2 separate regions of the Homo sapiens genome follow, and region 1 is linked to region 2. The links are contacts of gene promoters, found by promoter capture Hi-C in blood cells and fetal thymus (Javierre and others, 2016). All regions are on one chromosome and are shown on one strand. The core of a region is centred on a gene start or on the middle of the fragment in contact, and the rest is flanking DNA. Distances in the headings are between cores, read along the strand shown.

Evidence for each region. The method cuts DNA at HindIII sites, captures the fragments that hold promoters and counts their contacts. A CHiCAGO score of 5 or more calls a contact.
Region 1: a fragment that was not itself captured here is called in contact with the fragment with the promoter of FAM204A in region 2 in 1 of 17 cell types (naive CD4 T cells); the score reaches 5.1 in naive CD4 T cells.

What each region holds. Positions count from the first base shown.
Region 1 is chr10:117,337,155-117,342,878 of GRCh38, reverse strand. It overlaps PDZD8 (PDZ domain containing 8), which reads left to right. Exons shown (of 5, transcript NM_173791.5): 2 at 1,777-1,899. Among named protein-coding and RNA genes, the nearest start is that of PDZD8, 35 kb to the left of the region's middle. The HindIII fragment of the contact is 788 bases long and covers 859-1,646 here.
Region 2 is chr10:118,339,329-118,345,482 of GRCh38, reverse strand. It overlaps FAM204A (family with sequence similarity 204 member A), which reads left to right and starts at 3,159. Exons shown (of 9, transcript NM_022063.3): 1 at 3,159-3,213; 2 at 3,556-3,756. RefSeq lists enhancers at 2,999-3,218, 2,855-3,354. The HindIII fragment of the contact is 7,280 bases long and covers 1-5,857 here.

The sequences.
Region 1 (5,724 bases), core at 3-2,502, 1.0 Mb after region 2:
TATTCATAGTGTCTTCTGGGCATATGAGGTGACTTTCTAGATTGGAATGTTTATATTAAGAGAATATATGATTAGAAAGATTAATTGTGGGCTGGGTGTGGTGGCTCAGGCCTGTAATCCCAGCACTTTGGGAGGCCATGTGGGAGGCCGAGGCAGGCAGATCACTTGAGGTCAGGAGTTCAAGACTGATCTGGCCAGCGTGGCAAAACCCCATCTCTGCTAAAAATACAAAAATCATCCAGGTATAGTGGTGCATGCCTGTAATCCCAGCCACTTGGGAGGCTGAGGCAAGAGAATAGCTTGAATCAAGGAGGCAGAGGTTGCAGTGAGCCAAGATCGTGCCACTGCACTCCAGCTTGGGCAACAGAGCAAGACTGTGTCTCAAGAAAAAATAAAAAAGGAACATTAATTGTGGTGGACCTTAAATGTGAAACCAAGAACTTTTGACTATGTGTGTGTGTGTGTGTGTGTGTGTGTGTGTGTGTATCTGTTTGTGTGGTCAGTAAGAAGCCACTAAAACTTTCTGAGCAAGTAGATATCATGGCTAGTGACAATGTGTAGGGTGAATTGAAAACCACGGGGCTTTAAGCCCAATTTTCTTTCATTTTCTTTTTCTTTAGCTTTAATGGAGGAGTATGAGTTGTGTTTTAAATTAAAAGTTTTTTAAAACCTACAGTTTATAACTCAGCACAAACTTCTCCATAAAAACAACAATATTAGTGATGAGCATATGAATGCCTGGATAATTCATAGGTAACTGAGGTGTTATATAGTTGGACTTTGGAATTAGACTAGCTTGAATTCTGGTTTTGCCATTCACTTTGTAAAATTGAACAAACTTGTTAACCTTCCTAAGCTTCATTCTTTTCATCTGGAGAGAGGAGCCAATAATATTGCCCTCTTCAGGGTTGTGAGCATTAAATAAGATAATGCATGTAAAAAGCACTTAGCATACTGCCTGGCAAATAGTAAACATCTCTAATGAATATCTCTGCTGTGTTAATTGTTATTGATGTTGCTATTACAGTCATCTTTATCATGTACTAATCACTGTCTGTAATAGTCAGCTCTCTGTATTCGTGGGCTCCACATCCATGGGTTCCACATCCATGGATTCAAACAACTGTGGATTGAAAATATTTTTTAAAAATTTAATCTGCGCTGAACATGTACAGACTTTTTTCCTTGTCATTATTCTCTGAACAATATAGTCTTAACAACTATTTACATAGCATTTACATTGTATTAGGTATTATAAGTAATCTGGAGATGATTCAAAACATATGGGAGAATGTGTATAATGCAGATACTGGGCCATTTTATATTAGAGACTTGAGCATCCTGGGATTTTGGTATCCTTGGGAAGTACTGGAACCAATCCCCCATGGATGCCAAGGGGACTGTATATTATTTCCATGGAACATGCATTCTGAATTTTGATCTTGTACCGTAGGAACACTCTTCCCATCTGGTTCACAGTCTCTCTCCTGCCCCACCTAAACTTCATGGCCTACTTGCTGCCTCTAGGCTTTTCTTTTCTTTGTTCTCTCTTGCCTTATCAATGGGGGCATACCAAAAAACCAAGACTTATGGGTGCCATAGCGAAGGCACCATTTGCTGCCAGTTATGGGGGAGTGTGGTAAGCTTTGGTTTTGTAGAGCACGTGTAGTATTAGGTGTTCATTTTGCTTTGTGTTTTTGTACAGGTGAGTTTTGTTATGCTTTAAACTGTGGTGTTTATTATTCAGACATTTAGACTTATCTTTACTTTTGTCAGGTTTAAGCCGTTTTTTCCATACCAGACCTTGCAAGGATTTGAAGAAGATGAAGAGCATATCCATATACAACAATGGGCACTTACTGAAGGCCGTCTTAAAGTTACGTTGTTAGAATGTAGCAGGTATGTTCTTTGTTTTGTCATTACTAAGTTACGGGAAGAACAGTGCAGTGAAAATATTCCTAAGCAGTATTTGTGTTGTGTGTTCATTTAAATTATATTATTTACCTGTAAATTCTTTAATTGTAAATTTAATATCATAAAAGTAGTCCTTTCTAACTTTAACAAATATAAATCATATTTTAGAAAGTGTTTTAATGGAGGGAGAGGCATTTACTCTGTAGTCATTCTGACACTATTTAGATGCATAGTGCTCTGTTGGCTTATTTTTAACTTATTCTACCTACTGGGGAGCTGTTCCTATGTTAAAGAGAAAATTACTCAATGATACTTATTAAAGCAGAGTAAGGAAGTCTTTATTCAGGACCATCATGATAAGTATAGCAGCCACTGCAGTGAGGTCTTGAAGTGGGTGAGAGATTGGGCTCAACTCTGAATACAGCATGGGCAGGTGGAAATTTATAGCCAAGAAGCAATGTGGGATCAGTGGATGGAAACTTACTAAGAGGAAACATCAAGGGTAAAGGGGATTTTGGCTAAACCGACCTAACAGGATTCTTGCTAAAAACAGTCCAGGGTGATCAGACATCATGGAGGATGGTAAAGGACGATCAGATATCAAGGATAGGGGTTTCTTGCTAAACTGACTTCGCAGAGTTCTTTGCTGAAACTGGACAGATGGGCCTAGCAGAAGATTCAGAAACCTCAGTAAAGTTTGGCCTGGCAAAGAATCTTTGTCACCTATCAAAACGGTTTTGAGAATTGTTTGTGATAATTGGAAACACTCAGGAAAGTTGCAAAACTAGACTTTGAACCACTGTGGATTTTTAGCGTTTTAGAACTGGAAGCGATCTCAGAAATAATCTTGCCTAGCCTCCTTGTTTTACTTTGCCAGCACCAAAGTTTAAGCTATATTCATATCTTGCTTGAGCTACTTACTATACTAGCCTTCATATCTCCTAGTCCTCTGGTCCCCAATATAACAACCAACATGATCTTTTCAAAATGCAAATCTAATTGTCAGTCTCCTAGTTAAAACTCTTTAACAGCTTCCCCATTACTCTTAGGATGTGGACCCAAATCCTCACCATGACACACAGGTTCCTCTTAGCTCTCCAGCTTCAGTCTCACCATCCTCCGCCCAGCCCCTCATTCATAGTGCTTCAGCTACATAGGCCTTCCCAAGGCAAGGTGTTGGCAGACTGTTTCTCTAAGGGGCCAGATAGTACATTTTAGGCTGTGATTCACATGCTCTCTGTTGCAACTATACAACTCTGCCTTGCAGTACAGAAGCAGTCACAGATAATGTGTAACTGAATGAATGTGGCTGTGTGCCAGTAAAACTTTGTATATGAATTTTGTAATTTTCATATGTTATAAAATATTCTTTTGATACTTTTCAACCATTTAAAAACATAGAAACCCTTGATAGCCCACAGGTTATACAAAACAGGCAGTGGACTGAATTTAGACCATAAGCTGTAGTTTGCCATTCCCTACTTAAATATTTTAAAGCACCAAGCCCATTGTGTTGACTAGCTGCTGCTTTCTTGGCCCCCTTCTCTGCTCCATGAAGCCAACCTTTCTTGGTTTGGTTCAAAAGCTACCTTCTTAATGTATCTCCTGATCATTCCAAGTACAAGTATACTATCCTCCGGCTACATTTCTTTGACACTTGTTTGTACCACTTACTTGGTACATATGACTTTTATTTCCAACCCATAATACAATTAAGTACTTGAGCACACAGGTTATATTTTATATCTAATACATTTGTGTCCTTGCTAATGGTTAGGTTAGTTTTGAGTATACTAATAATATACTTAATCCTTTTTTTTTTTTTTTTTTTTTTTTGGTTAAGTCCAGGGTGACTCAGGATTGTGTATCATTATGTTAGAAAGCCTGGTAGACAAAGAATCCCTTTTTTTTTAAATCAAAAAAAGACTAAATATGTTGTCTATTTTGTAAAAGGAACTGCAGTGTACAGTAAAATACATATAATAGGTACTATGCTAGGTATTTAGAAAATACTAGTTCATTTGCTTTAATGTTGCTGGTGGGGTTAGGTATTGATTATATGTCTGTTAGCTTGTAGCTATTTAACCACTAGCTTTGGTGTCAGCTTTGCTCACCACATTTTTGCTTTACCTGCAGTACTGCTCACTTAAAGCCTTGCTACAGGAATCAAAGACTGCATGTAAGGCATTGAGAAAGTATAGCCAGACATTCTTTAGGTCATGTTGAGATAAATGAAAAGAAAAGCATTAGAATGTGTGAAGTACCTGTAACCAACTTTATTTTAATAAGGAACTGTGTAATAAATCTCTGAAAGGATAAGTGAGAAACCAATAAGAATTTTTACGGGGTATACAGGGAAGGAACTGGGTTGATGATGATGGACAGGGGTCAAGGTGATAGCCCAGCTATTCACTATAAACTTGTTTATGTTGTTTTATTTATCACCTGGTCAAAAATTAAGGTCCAGTATTTTTAGAGAGTACATAATTAGGCTGAAGGGAAAAACATGGAAAAATAGTTTTTTTAATATCTGAAGTTATGTAACTGTCGGCTTAGGTTATATAGCCAGCACCTTTCCCCAAGTGATAGATTCATCTTGGGAACAAGTACACTATCTAGAGATTTCCTTGTGCCATTTTTACAAATCCAAGCATGTAAAAGTTACTCAGTGTTGTGGTACTGTGTTATTGTTTACATAGTTTAAGAATTATTTGTGTATGAAGGCAAGAGTAAGTCTCAACTCATTCCTGCTTTTTTGTCTTCGTATTAAGTCCTAACATTCTTTCCGTTAAAAACTTAACGTTACTGTTTTTCTTGTAAACTTTTTTCTTAGTATAAAAACAGAAAACTCTGTTCAGGTAGATTTTAAGTTTATAGGATTCAAACTAAAGAGGACATATTACTGTAACCTAAGCATTTTTATTTCAATAGTTAATCTCATTTTGAATATAAATTCAGCTTGTGTGTTTTATTCTAATTCCTGAAGCAAAAAGAGGCACTAGAGAAAATGAAAGCACAAATAACAGTGCTTTCTTTTTGGAAGAAGGACCAAAAAAATGCTTATTACTTCATATATAGTGGAATAACATAGACTTTTGAGTTATAGAAAGCACTGAATTCAATCTAGCCATATGCCCTTATATAGTGTCACTAGGCAAGTTACACATCTGTGAAATGGGCAAGGGAGCTACTTTGCTGGTAATTGTAATCAGAGATAGGCAACTACCCACAATGCCTACCACATAGGATACCTACAGTAGATGTAGCTTCTATTATTATGTCTCAAGATAATCGTTGCAGTATCTGTGAAGAAAAAACGGCATGTTTTTTCTTGCATATTTGTTTGTGAGAATTGGAATTTGAATTTTATTAATTTAAAAAGGTCTCATATTGTAAAGGGAGGTTCTTTCCTAACTATCTGAAATACTGTTTCGCATTTCCCAAGCAATAGCTTGAGGGTGGAAAGGCAGTATTATGTGTAAAAATTGGTTTTCACATTTTGCTTTTGTCAAGTATTTTTTAAAAAGCAGTCATTCTGAACAATTGCATGTTTTTTTGAGTTGATGAAAGCTGATTTTTTTTAACCACAGATGAATGCAATGGCTGTTTGTCGTACTGCTAGTAGGTGAAATTATTTCACATTAGTGTTGCAATCAGATTGTTAAGATGATTATTTTTAAATTTATAATTTATAGTCTATCTTCTGTCTTGAAGGATAGAAGATATTTGAGATATTTTGCAAAGAAAACATGTAAGCATGTATACTTAAGCAGAAGATATATTAGATCAAAAACATGGAAAAGAGATCAA
Region 2 (6,154 bases), core at 1,910-4,409:
CTTATAATCTCTACAATAAAAAATTGTTAAATGTAAGGAAAAACTGTTCATAAACTATAATATTTCTTGGCAAAGAAAAACTGCTTTGTGTTTTTAAAGATACGGTTGAGAATTTAAATGAAAGCTACATGCTTGAAATTAGTGCCAGATGCAACACAATTCAAGCACAATTCACTAGCTGCATCAGATATTTCACTATGATTTAGTAAAAGGTATCCAACAATTCTACATTTCATAGAAATCTCACAAATACAAGTATTTCATTCACAAAACTCATGGCTTGGCAGGCTTCCAGGGCAGGAATTTGCTGGAAGAAAGGTAAATTTATTGATTAACATAAATCAAAGGACTGACATTTTCCCTAGAAAATTGACAAAACAATAATATTCAGAAACTGAAGTTCTTACAACCAGAGCGAGAAGAAAAGTCTGAGCTATTATTTACATTTATTATAGGCATCCAGTAATGTGATAAACAATTAGGTAATTAAGAATTCTCAAATCAGTATTGAGAAACTTAATTTTAAAATGTTAGATATTTTTGAAGCAAGATTTTCCAAAAACCTTTGCTATGAAATCTGGTGTTTGTAAATCTTTGTAGTAGTTATAATTATATGCCACCTCTATCCCTTGCATTTATTAATATATGCACTAAATAATGAGCATTCTTTGATGGGATCCATATAGAAACAATCGAGATTTTTTTTTTTTTCTGAGATGGAATTTCACTCCTGTCACCCAGGCTGGAGTGCAGTGGCGCAATCTCAGCTCACTGCAACCTCTGCCTCCCGGGTTCAAGTGATTCTCGTGCCTCAGCCTCCCGAGTAGCTGGGATTACAGGCACATGCCACCATGCCCGGCTAATTTTTGTATTTTTAGTAGGGGGGAGCGGGTTTCAGCATGTTGGTCAGGCTGGTCTCGAACTCTTGACCTCAAGTGATCCACCTGCCTCGGCCTCCCAAAGTGCTGGGATTACAGGCGTGATCCACCATGCCCAGCCCCAGATCATTCTTAAACATACAAACATTAATTCCTTCCTACCCCATGCCTCAGTTCTTCCCCCTCTGCTATCTCTTTCCCCATTCTGGTAACATTTCCACCATCAGCAATTGTTATGAGCTGAATGTTTGTGCACCCCTAAAATTCCTATCTTAAAGCCATAACCCACAGTGTGGCTGTGTTTGGAGATGTGGCCTCTAAGGCAGTAATTAAGGTTAAATAAGGTCAGAAGGGTAGAACCCTGATCCAACAGGATTAGTGTCCTTTTAAGTACAGAGAAGAGACACTGGAGAGCTCCCCAAACTGTGCATATAAAGAAAAGGTGATGGGAGCACGACAGGGCAAGGGTGGCTGCCTACCACGCAAGAGAAGAGGCCTCAAAAAAAAAAAAAAAAAAAACCTACTTTGCTGGCATCTTGATCTTGGACTTCCCAGCATCTAGAACTGTGAGAAATAAATTCCTGTTGCCTAAGCTACCTTGTCTGTAGTATTTTGCTATCCCCAGATGAAGAGCAATTAAGAAGCCTAATGCAGTTACAACAGCACTCTCAGGCACACCTTCTTGTTACCTGTTTAACTTTTTAAAGATTTGGATTCAAGGAAAATCCTACTGAGAAGCTGAACAGATTTGGCCAAAATAGTTTTACACAGATCCTTAACTCATTCAGCCTTGCTTCTACTCTAGAATCAGAGAATGTGAACAGGAAGAGGGACCTCGGCGATCCAAACTTGCTGATTCAGGTTTTACTATGATTCTGGGGTTATAGAAAACTGCTCTCTAAACTTGGCGCATCTTCTGGAAGATGTTGGAGGTGAGGTGGTTTAGTGGATAGTTAATAGGCTTAACCATCTGTTGATGTGAAATTGAGATATATTACTGAGTGCAATGCAAAATTTTATACACATTTAGCTTGCTTTGAAGAAAGACATTATTGGTAATGTTAACAGCAAAAAACAGCTGAGATTGAAAATTAGCGTGGGCTAGGTAACATGTTAAAGTCTTTATGTGTACAGTAGCCTCCCTTATCCGCAGGGAATACCTTCCAAGACTCCCCGGTAGATGCCTGAATCCTGGAATAATGGCGAACCCCACATATAGTTTTTCAATCTGATAACCAAGATGGCTACTAAGTGACTAAGAACCTGGTAGCCTAACAGCATGCATGGACAAAGCGATGATTCACACTGCAGATTTCATCAGGATATCCAGAATGGGCTTGCAATGAAACATTTGAATTGCTTATTTCTGGAATTTTTTACTTAATGTGTTTGGACCTTGGTTGACCCCAGGTAACTGAAATCAGGCTAAGAGAAGCCACAGATGAGGGAAGCCTACTGTATTTTCTTTTCTTTTCTTTTTTTGAAATAGGGTCTGGTTCTGTTGCCCAGGCTTTTCTTATATAATCATCACAAAATTAGCAAATAGGTACACTTAATGTTATTCTTATTATAAAACAGTATTTCGGAAAATGCAAATATTTCTAAAATAGCCCTATTCCCATCCCTATCCATAGGGTATTTTATCCTCTTCGCAGTGCTTTTCTCTCTCTTTTTTTTCCCCTTATTTTCTATGTTCCCCAAGCACCCCCTTCTGGGCATAACACAGTGCCTGCCACAAATAAGAAAAAAAGAAGTTCGGTAAACTTTTGGTCCAGTCAGTGAAGCACCTTGGACCCCATCACCAGACGGTAGGCGCCAAGAGAGCAAGAGTCAGCATGTTTTCTGCTAACCAGAGATTAGCACGATGCCTGGTACAAAGTAGGCGCCCAATAAATAGGTGAAGAAAGAAAAAAAATTAAAAAAAAGGAAGAGAGTGAGGGGAAAGGATGAATGAATGAAGACGTTTGCAGAGGGGCCTAGAAAGAAAGCACTCTGCAAGATTCTCCCTCCTGGTGGCATCAACTCTCAGTTCAAGGTCTATGTCAGCCCTTTCCTTGCCCAGACGCATTGGCCTACAGCAGGGAATGAAGAAAGAACAAAGTCTTTAAAAATGTTCAGAAGAAAGAGAAAACGGCAAGATAAAAGAGAGAAAAAAAAGAAAGAAAGGAACCACCTCCTTCGGGCGGACTAAAAAGGGAAGCCCCAGGAGGCCGGTTGCTAAGGCGACCCTAGGGCCAGAACGGCCCCAGCCCATTGGTTGAGACGCAGGAGCCAATGAGAAGGCGCGATGTTGACGGGGTCCTAAGATGGCTGCTGGGCGACCACTTCCTGACAGGTGAGTACGGCTTATGGAGGGTTGGTTACCCGCCGGTTCGGGCTCCGGCATGATGAGTCTGGGAGGGCCTCTTGTGGGCAGCCGAGGGAGGCGGCATGGGCGGCCTCATAGCTCCTCGGCCGAGCCTCCCGGAGCAGGCTAGAAAAGCCCCCGGCCCGGGGCCGCGGAAGCGACGGCGGGGCCGCCCTCAGCCTTCCTCGAAAGGGGCGTCGCAGCGGCCTCCCCAGCCTGTTATGTGGAGGGGGTTCTCCGTCCCACCCAGGTCAAAGTGAGAGGGGATTGAGGAGGCTGTCGATAGGGAAAACAGGCTCACGTTTACAGTTGCTGTATTCCGGAAAACAGCTCCAGTTAATGGGACTGCCAGCAGGCTAGACATCCTTCGCCGGAATGTGCAGCGCTTAGTTCTGTGCCCGGGAGGGGCTTCTCTCTCTTTTGGGATTGGAGTGTGGCATTGCCGCCAGAAAGCCTGCAGAATTCCGGGTTGTGCAGCCAAGCAGGAACGGTGTACCTTTCTAGACCCATCCTCTTGCAATCTTGGACCCTGTAAGTATTCTCACAGCGGAATCGACTTAAAATGAGCCTTGAACTGTTAACTTGGTTTATTGTCTTTCCATGCAGGATCTTGGGTCTGGGAAAATGTTTTCCAGGCCTCAAGTAAACGAACACTCTCTTTAATTAAAACAGTTGAATACATGCAAAATCTTGCTAAATAAGTAGTTTTTCTGGATTCGCTCTCAGGCCTGTAATTCAGTTGTCCTTTCTGTACCTTTTTTGAGAAAAGGAACACATTCATTTCATAAAAGTAAATAGGATATTTACGTTAATGTTGATGTTAACATGCTTGAAAATAGTAACTATTTTTAAGTCACAGACTCTGATTATGATGTAAATTACAATCTTCAGATTGTTAAATAATTGTGGCTTATAATTAGTATACAAGTGAAATTAATTTTAGATCAGACGAAGTTCAGGCTTCTGGAATTATTTCTAATCAAATACAAAATATAGGAAATAAGACAGCCTTATACGATGAAAATGGAATTTAAATTCTGGAATAGAGATGGAAAACATTTACCCATCGAGCTGCTCAAATATATCTTTTGGGTTTTGATTATAAGCAGCTGTCTGGTTGTCCAGAAAATATGACATTATTACTCAAACCTCTGACTGTGACTTTGACTTTGATGTATGCAACTTAGTATAGCATCTTGCATAGCTTTCTGTACTCAAAAAGTACAGAAAAAAATTCTTAACCAAATTTAACAAGTCTGTAATTATAGGCTAAGATCATTCTCAGCCCCAGTCGCAAATCCTTGTCCCCGCTTACAACTCTGCTCTGTAAAATTCATAATCTAAAGCCATGGGGCTATTTTTGTAAAACAAATGGATCAGAATGCATTAGGCAAGTCAGTTATCCCATCTGTAAATTGGGGGCGGGGCGGGTAGGGGAGGGGCTGATATAGATAGTAATTCCTAGTGGAAGGGTTGTTGTGAAGATTAGTGGAAAACCAAGGCCTGCCACACTGTTTGTATGCCATGTGCAGCAGTGACTTGCTTTGTTTCCCCTTTCTGGTTCTAGTGTTTCCTGTTGTAACTAGGGTTCCTTCCCCTTCTCAGTGTCCTGAAGTGTACAGAGTTTCTCTGAAAACATCCTCTTGGCTGAGTTGCTAGGTAGAGGAGAGAAACCTTATCTACTGGATACTGGGCTCTAATCAGGATTGCAGTGCTAGAGAGAATGGAGTGATACATCCAGGAGTGAGGTGACTCTGGGCATTTAGGGCACTTATAATATCAAAATCATAAAGAGGCATTTTAGAGCTGTAAGACATCTCAGAGATCATTTGATCAAACCTTTATTTTATAGCTTAAGAATGGAGGCCCAGACAAATGCAGTGGCTTTCTCCTAATTATGTTGCTCAGGACTAGAAACCATTTTCCAACTTTGAAGACTTTTTCCCCCTGTAACCAGTGCACAATCTAGAACGGTTTTTATTATAATTTGATTTCTCCCTGGCTGCTTTATTTTGAAAGATTGTGTCTACTCAACCTTATTTATGAATGTTTTTTTCTGATAAAAATCAGACCTATAACTACCAGTGAACCTCTGATTAACATGTGAAAAATAGTGCTTCACTAAATTGGTCTTTTCCTGTAATGATGAATGGTACAGTCTTACTGAGGGGAAAAATAAAATAGTTTGGGCTTTTTGAAATTAGCTTAGAGACTCCTGTTACTATATTCATACTTAGATTAGGAACCACTGAACTGTACCCTGTTTTTGATTCATTGTTATCTGACCAAGTATGCTAAATAATAACGATGGGTGGTTTTCAAGGGCAAACAAACAAACAAACAAGAAACCCTAGTTATTCAGACTAGGACAGTATATAAATATTTTCAGTTCATGGCAAATTGTGTTAGCCCAGGACTAAAGATGTGTTCTGCATAGTACACACAGAATGTCTTGAGGATAATTGTGGGATGGAATAAATCTTAACTCTAGAGGTGGAGGGTGTGTAAAATGAAGAAAGTGATATTCAAAACCATAGAGAGAAAAAGGATTCTGAGTCATTTACATTTTCCTTGGGGCTAAAATGATTAAATTGAAAATTATTTGGGTTGCAGGGTAAAAAAAATGAAAGCTTATGAATTAATACATTGGCTGTTATATGGACTTGGCTATAATCTATGCTAAACAAATTTAAGTTTCTGTTTCTCTGATATTCCACGTTTCTGGAGACAGGCTGAGTGAATTTTCACAGTTAAAGGGTAACTTGGGATTATCTGCCTTAAAATAAAGAAATACGCTCTGAAAGGCATAAGTAAGAGACACTTATAGAGAATCATTCTCCACAGCAGCCAAAACAAGAATAACAGGAGGCCTAACATGGTGCCAGTTGGAAACTTTGTGAATGACAAGTATATGCTATGAATAGAAAGA